2 separate regions of the Homo sapiens genome follow, and region 1 is linked to region 2. The links are contacts of gene promoters, found by promoter capture Hi-C in blood cells and fetal thymus (Javierre and others, 2016). All regions are on one chromosome and are shown on one strand. Each heading gives the region's core, a stretch centred on a gene start or on the middle of the fragment in contact. The rest is flanking DNA. Distances are from core to core; before and after follow the strand shown.

Region 1 (3,866 bases), core at 985-3,484, 76 kb before region 2:
CTACTCTTGGCTCCGTTTGGACTAAGACAGCAGTGCCTGGAGGAGCAGCAGCAAAGGCCAAGGTTGCCTGGTGGAGGCAGCTGCACACTGCTGGGTAGGGTAGAGAAGAGTTTCTTCCCAGTGGGCAGGAGGTTGTTTTCTAGGACTTATCATGGTGATAGTGAGAGTGGTAGGAGGCGGCTAATGGTCCTGTGGTTCTTCCCAAACCTAGACACTCCTACTGAGTACTCAGAAGGCCCTAGCTGAAGGGTTACAAACTAAAAATAAACAAAAGCCCAGATAGCAATAACAACAAGAAGAACAACAAAACAACCTCTTTAGATTCCCAGCTTTATACTAGCCCACCTGACTTTATACTTTTCTCATTTCTGACCAAAAACTTCCTGTACACATTGAAAGGAATCTCTAACATAACTATAAAGAGATTGCTATAGCTAAGTTAACTTTGACTTACCCACATTAACAAAGAAGACTAACATATAATCTGAACATTTCTCTTTGCCTTTGGATTATATTTCTTCATTTGCTTTTTTTTTGTTTTTTTGCAATCAGATATGCTCCATATTATATTTGTGTAGCAAATCACTAATATTTTTTAGTTTCAAAATAAACTATTTGCATAGTGAGGCAGCAATACATACACACACACACTCTCGCTTACACACATGATCATAACAGGGATTTACTTCACTAAACATTATTCATAATATGTATAATTCACAGGCTGGTAATGGGTATCTAGACTATAGCTGAAGTTTTGTGTTTTAAGCATTTGACTCCAGTAGGCCTCTATGCAATAAGCTTGCTTGGACAAGTATAAGTAGGATTGATGGTTATTTATAATATTTGATTTTAAGAATAAGCAAGAATATTGTGTGTTACATATCTGCTCTTCTAATACCATAAGCTTCCTCATTCATGACTGATTTCCCCTGGTTAAGAATTGATCTCATTTTGTTATTTATCTAGTAAGTGAAAATCCTCTCCTGTAAGTTGGCCTATTTTAATCAGCATTTCAGATCACGATCTTCTAGACAGGAGAGAACAAAGTGTTCTGATTGAACTAGATGCTGGGTAGGAATGAGGATGATGCTGAAAAAAGTAAATTCTACTCTAAGCCGGTCATTGCGATAGGCCCTAATGAATGAGAAATTGTCCCTTGTCTCAACGGCGGGGGGGCAATTCCCAAAGAGCAGGGAAGACAGGCACAAATACATGTATGGGGGGACAATGTTAAAGCAGAGGTCAGTACACTGGGAGAATAGTTAAGGGAATAGGAATGGTACCAAAGCACTTTTCCCAAGGAAATAAATTGACATTAAAACATGTTTTAATAACCATCCAATATGAATGGGGGAAGGACCATGCTTTATTTATCCTGGCTCCATCTCCAGAAATTTAGTGTCTTTGACATGGTAGACACTATTGATTATGAGATAATCTGAAGTGGTGTCACAGTTTTCCCCAAAGGCAGATCTGAATATAGCTGTTTGCCCCTGAAAATGTGGAGGCTTTAAGTGCATGTGTTATTTTAACAGAGCCACAAAAGGCTCACCCAAGGATCACCAGGCACATTCTTCCAGATGTCCTGGAAAGCCATTAGAACAGACTGGAGGGCTGGACTCAGACTCATTCCTCTGACTCTTCTTCCATCATTAGCAGACACTAGAAACACTGAATCTACTGCTTTCATCCAAGAAACACTTCAGCTATTCCCAGTGTTCTTCACATATTCCTTAGGTTTTCTACTTCTCAGTTCCTTTGCTTATGCCTTTATCTACGTCTTGAATATTCTTTCATATCCTCTCAGCTTAAATGGATCCTCCCCACCTTTGAAGGCATATTTTACAATCTACCTTTCCATGAAGATCGTCCTTATCGCTCTAGACAGTAATGACCTGTTCCATCTCTGACCTCAAAGTCTACCTACTGCTTATTATACCAAGCACTGTCTATGATGCCTCATTTGTTCAACATTTTAAAATGCAAGCCATGTGTTAGACCATGTATCTTCCCCGACTGAATGGCAAGGGGCATTAGTGTGACTAATCCATGTTAGATTCCCAAAATGATAGGCCAGTTCATGGATAGTTCTTACAAATACATAGGCTGCTGTACCTCAGGAGACAAGAAACCCTTGGGACTACTGGTCTTTATATTTCTTGACACAAAATACCTGAACTGAGAATAAAAGTCATAGCTTCTTGTTAGCTGTTGTCACTCAGACACTTAAAGAAGAAGGTAAAATCAATCCATCTCTACTCCTGAAGTGATGAGGTTAGGAGAAAGAAGAGATACTCACCTACAGTCTTCAGGAGGAAAAAGGTGAGCTTCAGAATTATGATGTTCATATTATAAGTATATTAAAATGTGTTCTGAAATCAATTCCCGATTGTCCCCATGGGTTCTCGAGCTGCATGTTTGAGGCCACTGAGTCACAGAAGTTTAGGGAAGAGGCCATAGGCATCCATCTCAGACTCATTTATGCATTGTCCAGTCACCTTACCTAAGTATCTTGTGTCTAATATATGAATTAATCTGTGAAATCACCTGCTTTAAAAATATATTTACAAATATATTTATGTGAACCTTATAATATGTAAAATACATTCACAGTTATTGTCTCATTTGATTTGCATAACAATCTTTTGAAGTATTTATTATTTTTTACAGATTAAAATATGAAGTTCAGAGAGACTTTATGAGTCAAAGGTTGCACTGTAAATCTTAGAAATGAAAATGATACTGCATCTTATAACTCAGGGTTCATGGTCTTTCTGTTACCTCTGTACTAATGGTTTCTTTCTTTAAAAGGGGACAATTCAGATTTGAAAGATTTAGGGAAAAAGATCACATTCTAGACTTCTGTTGTCCAGTAATATAGCCACTAGCCATAGGTGGCTACTGAGCATTTGAAATCTGGCCGGGTATAAAATACACTATGGATTTCAAAGATTTGTATAATAAAATAATGTAAAATATCTCATTATTTTTAAAATATGAATTATATGTTGAAATGATGTACATGTACATCATTTTGCATGTACAGTTGGCCTGTGTGTCTGTGGGTTCCACATCTGTGGATTCAACCAATGGCAGATGGAAGATTTTTTTTTAATGGGTGGTTATATCTGTACTGAATATGTACAGACATTTTTCTTGTTATTCCCTGAACAATATACTAAAAGAAATATTTACTTAGCATTTACATTATATTAGGTATTATAAGTAATCTAGAGATGATTTAAAGTATACAAAAGGATGTGCTTAGTTAGGTTACATAAAAATACGACACCATTTTAAATCAGGGACTTGAGCATTCAGGGATTTTGGTATCTGAAGGGGTCCAGGAACCAGTCTCCTATGGATATCAAGGACTGAACTGAGTTAAACAAAACATACTAGTAAAATGTATTTTATCTTTTTATTCTGACTTTTTACAAAATGAACTTCTAGGATGTTTTAAATTGCCCGTGTGTCTGCATTATATGTCTATTGGGCAATGCTGATCTAGCATTTACCTTTGCAAAATACTTTCAATAGTCATAGTTTTAATAATACTGTGAGATGCATTGAAATGTTTAAAAACACTTTTCTTATGATTTTAAATTGCTAAAAACCACCTGAGTCCTGAATGAGGTCTGAATCAATGTAGTAGATTATTTTGGTCAGAAATACAACCTCATAAATTTGTATCCCTAGGCTAGTCAAGTTTACTGTTTATCGGTTGGTTAAATAAAGTAGATGCTGGTTATCATTGCTTACTTTTGTGTGGACTAAGATGGAATGTGTATAATTTTTCTTCCTACAAATGCAAAAACAGAATACAATTTGTTGCAATAATCTATTTGACATGCACATTACAC
Region 2 (3,932 bases), core at 741-3,240:
TGGTAAGCTGGTTTAACTAAAACCTTGAGTTATCTTTTATAATTTTGAAGTCTAGAAATGCCCTTTCTTTTGTAGTTGCCCTATAAACTCAATGAAGATATTAAAACCTTGCTAATCTTTCAGAAACAATTTGAACCTTAGCTTGTATCATAAGCTCTCTTTGATTTCTTCAACCAGCTTGGTAAGAAACATGAGCGCCTATTTTACATGACACTTAATATAACTATTTTATTTAGACCTCATAATATCCTACAAAGCAATTATTTTAAATCTTACTCTTAAAAGTGGAGACTAAAACTGCAATTATGACATCTGTACAAAATTCTACAACTAGACCTGGTTGGATCAGTATTAGAATACTGGTAGGTTCAATTGACACCAAAACCCATGTTATTTCTATCTCTCAATGTGGCCTAAAGTATATACTACCATGAGTGGGAGAATAAAGAAAATGTGACTTTCTAAGTCACCTTGGACAATCACTTTTCTCCTTGTATTTTATCATTTTAAAAAATGTGGTTTCTAAGCTGGGAAATATGTATACAAAGGTTTTTTCATTGCCTTTTATATTTTTGTTTACAGTATTCTGTATGTATTTAATAAAGTTATTTCATAAAAAGTAAAACAATCATTTACTAATACAAATGAGGATACGAATAGCATTTCACATACCTCTGAACCATAGAACATAGATTTTGGAGAGACTCTAGACATCATCTAATCCAGCCTCCTCATTTTCTAGATGAAGTGTTTGCAAGGGAGAGAGTGAGGTAGACCATTTGGCCAAAGCTGGGGGAAAGTGTGTGACTGAGTTGCAACTCAGTTATTCTGATTTCCACCTGAATGATTTGAGATGTGAATAGTTGCTTTCCTGGCAGGCAAATTGTGAGTTTTGATAGCACAGACTATGGGGGTGGGCTGCCTGCTGTAGACTCTCGGAAGCTGCTGCACAAAAGCCTTTGCAGAGCATGCTTCACCTCCTTGTTCCGCAAAGTGTAAATGAATGGGTTGAGCATTGGAGTTACGATTGTGTAGAAGACAGCAGGGGCCCCAGCTCCTGCCTCACTGGAGCGAGGCTGCAGGTAGATACAGACAGGTGGCACGTAGTACAGGAGCACCCCAGTGAGCTGGGCAGTGCAGGGGGAGAAGGCCCGCTGCCGGCCCTGGGCTGTGCGGATGCGCAACACAGCTGCCACGATGAAGATGTAGGAAATAACGATGAGGATGAGGCAGCCTGCAGCCACGATGCCAATGCTGGCAAGCATGACTAGCTCATTAATGGTGGTGTCTGTACAGGCGAGCTTTAGGACAGGGGGTATGTCGCAGAAGAAGTAGGCAATGTGGCAAGGCCCACAGTAGAGCAGGCGGAAGGTGAGGGAGGTGTGGATTGCAGCGTGCGTGGCACCTATGGCCCAGGTGATTCCAGCCATTTCTGCACACATCCTTCTGTTCATGGCCACTGGGTAGTGCAGGGGTTGACAGATAGCCAGATAGCGGTCATAGGCCATGACTGTGTACAGGAAGCACTCAGTGCTGGCCAGAAAGTGGAAGCAATAAAGCTGTACGGCACAGCCCTCAAAGGAGATCACCTTCCCATCCAGAGTCAGCAGGCCTGCCATGACCTTGGGCACTGTCACTGTAGACAAACAGGCATCCAGGAAGGAGAGGTGCCCCAGGAAGTGGTACATGGGTAAGCTGAGGTGAGAGTCAGAGCCCACAGTTAGGAGGATGAGGAGATTCCCAGCCACAGTGATGCTGTAGATGAGGAGGAAGAGGAGGAAGAAGAGGCTAGAATGTTTAGCGGTGTACCTCAAACCCTCCAGGAAGAAGTGGCTCACCACAGTCTGGTTGGGGTTCTCCGTTGTCATGGTCATCTTCTCACACACAGAGCGGCTAGTCATCCCCTTTGCAACAAAACTGACATTAATGGAATAAATAGCTGTATCCCTTTCCTGAGATGTCATTATCCATCAAGCCACACCACCTTGGTCTTACCCAGTAAGCAAGAGAAAGATGTACAAGTTCATCTTACAGTTTTGTTCTGCTCTAGTCTAGTGCTTCCTTGCTGTTTATTTCTTCATAATGAATCTTTCAATACAAAATCTGCAGTTTTGGTGAGGTATATAAAGGACTGTAAGAATTATTTGCAGAAATGCACTCCCTAAATAATGACAATAAAAATATGGATTATAAATCCTACTCTCAATGAGTATTTTTTGCAAATATTCCAGAATTGTGATGCCTCTGCCCTCCTACTCTATGTACCCTGCCATGCTGTAGATGTAGAAAGGCAGGTTCTTATTGCTGTGTCATCAGGGAGATGCATCCTATTTTCAGGTGAGACTTGCCTGGAGTTTTGGTGCTATTACATCAGCCAGAAACACAGCAGCCCCACCCATTACTCAACCAGAGGAGTTCTTTGGAATTTCAGTTACCCACAATCCTCAAGTGTGTAACAATTGAGGCTTGGAGAATAGACTGAATAATTATCAGGACAATTTTTTCTATACACTTTGTGTTCTTCCTGTAAAGCTCTGTTTCAAAATTTGGGGAATTGTTTGCCTTTTCCTTTCTTGTTGAGCCTTTCCACTGGACTGTAATTGAGATTTAAAGAGTTCTCTTTGATTCTTCCATCTTTCACCTCGTTAGCCTAACAGATGTTGCATTAGGTGAAAAATTTCCTTAAACTGCTTTTTTTCCGTGTTGTCTCTTCAATTCCTGTGGATTTTACCTAAACCCACCTCTTCATATTTTACACCTAGATTTTCACAATGGTATTTTATGTCCCATCTCTTCCTTACTCCCTGATATACCAAATGATTCAGTATTCAACTTTTTTGTGCCAGTTTTCTTAAAAAAATTCGAATATATCTTTTCTTACTGTTCCTTAGTGCCTGAGATATAAAGTGTATCTCTGTCCTACATTCAGAATTATCTGTAAACTATTTCCATTATCATGAAAAAAATCTTTATCTTCTGCAATCCCCTAAGAAACTCCTGTTATCCAGGGATGCTATTTGCCTCATCTCCTCAATTTGCCATAATCTCTCTCTGATCTTGTCACAGGATCCTTAGGATGTCACTTTTCCAGACAGAAACCTCTGTGGCTGGTGGTTCCTCTGCTTGAGTTTGCTCATGGCTGCTGGGTTCTTTTCACCCACTTGGCCTGGCAGGCTGCACTTGGCTCGTGCTACCAGCCTGGATTCCATGCTTGCCAAGGGTGGGAGAGGCGAGAGGTGTGTGAGTGAGCAAGCACAGGGGTCTGGCCACTGCACACAGCCAGGCACACTTGCTGCTGTGGTGGGATGGGCAGCTCCAGGTGCCAGCAGAGGCACCAGCTTCATGTGAGGCTATAGCTGGACCAGGCATACTGCAAGTGGTTTCCATTATGGGCACCAGCATCTGGACGAGGGGAATATGGGGGCACCCAAAAGCTCAGAGATGCCAGGAACTGCAGAGCCCAAAGAGGGTATTACAGCCTGTCACAGCCCTGGCTCAGGGAGTCCTGAGGTCTGGGCTCCAAGAAGCTCTTCTTTCCTTCTCGTCACCCACAATGCAGCCAATGAGGGGGTGAGTTTGGGGGTTTGTGTTTCAGTCTGTTTGTGTTACAGCCCTTTCAGTCCCACCACCCCACTCTGACCTGCAGCTCCTGGGCTGGCCTGGCCCACCTCTGCTTCCTGTCCCATTGGGTGGCCACCCAGCACTGGCAGAGGGTGGGAGGGCTATAGTGTTACAGCAGCTCTGGCTTGGGGAGTCCCGAGGTCTGGGCCACCAGGAGGGTCACCACTTTTTACTCCCATAGTCCGGGAGCATGTCACCACCCACAGCTTGGCAAATGAGCCAGGAACATGTTACAGCACCTTTAGCTCCCCCTGTTCGGTGGGTCCCAAGTTCTCATCCTGCGTCCAGGAAGAATGAGGATACTAGAGGAC

Evidence for each region. Contacts are between HindIII fragments. The CHiCAGO score rates a contact against its expected background, and 5 or more counts as called.
Region 1: a contact is called between the fragment with the promoter of OR8D4 here and the fragment with the promoter of OR10S1 in region 2, in 1 of 17 cell types (neutrophils). The highest score is 5.8, in neutrophils.

The regions. Positions count from the first base shown.
Region 1 is chr11:123,899,933-123,903,798 of GRCh38, forward strand. It overlaps OR8D4 (olfactory receptor family 8 subfamily D member 4), which reads left to right and starts at 2,235. Exons shown (of 2, transcript NM_001005197.2): 1 at 2,235-2,325. The HindIII fragment of the contact is 7,569 bases long and covers 906-3,866 here.
Region 2 is chr11:123,975,791-123,979,722 of GRCh38, forward strand. It overlaps OR10S1 (olfactory receptor family 10 subfamily S member 1), which reads right to left and starts at 1,991. Exons shown (of 1, transcript NM_001004474.2): 1 at 871-1,991. The coding sequence starts at 1,874. The coding sequence ends at 906. The HindIII fragment of the contact is 7,911 bases long and covers 1-3,932 here.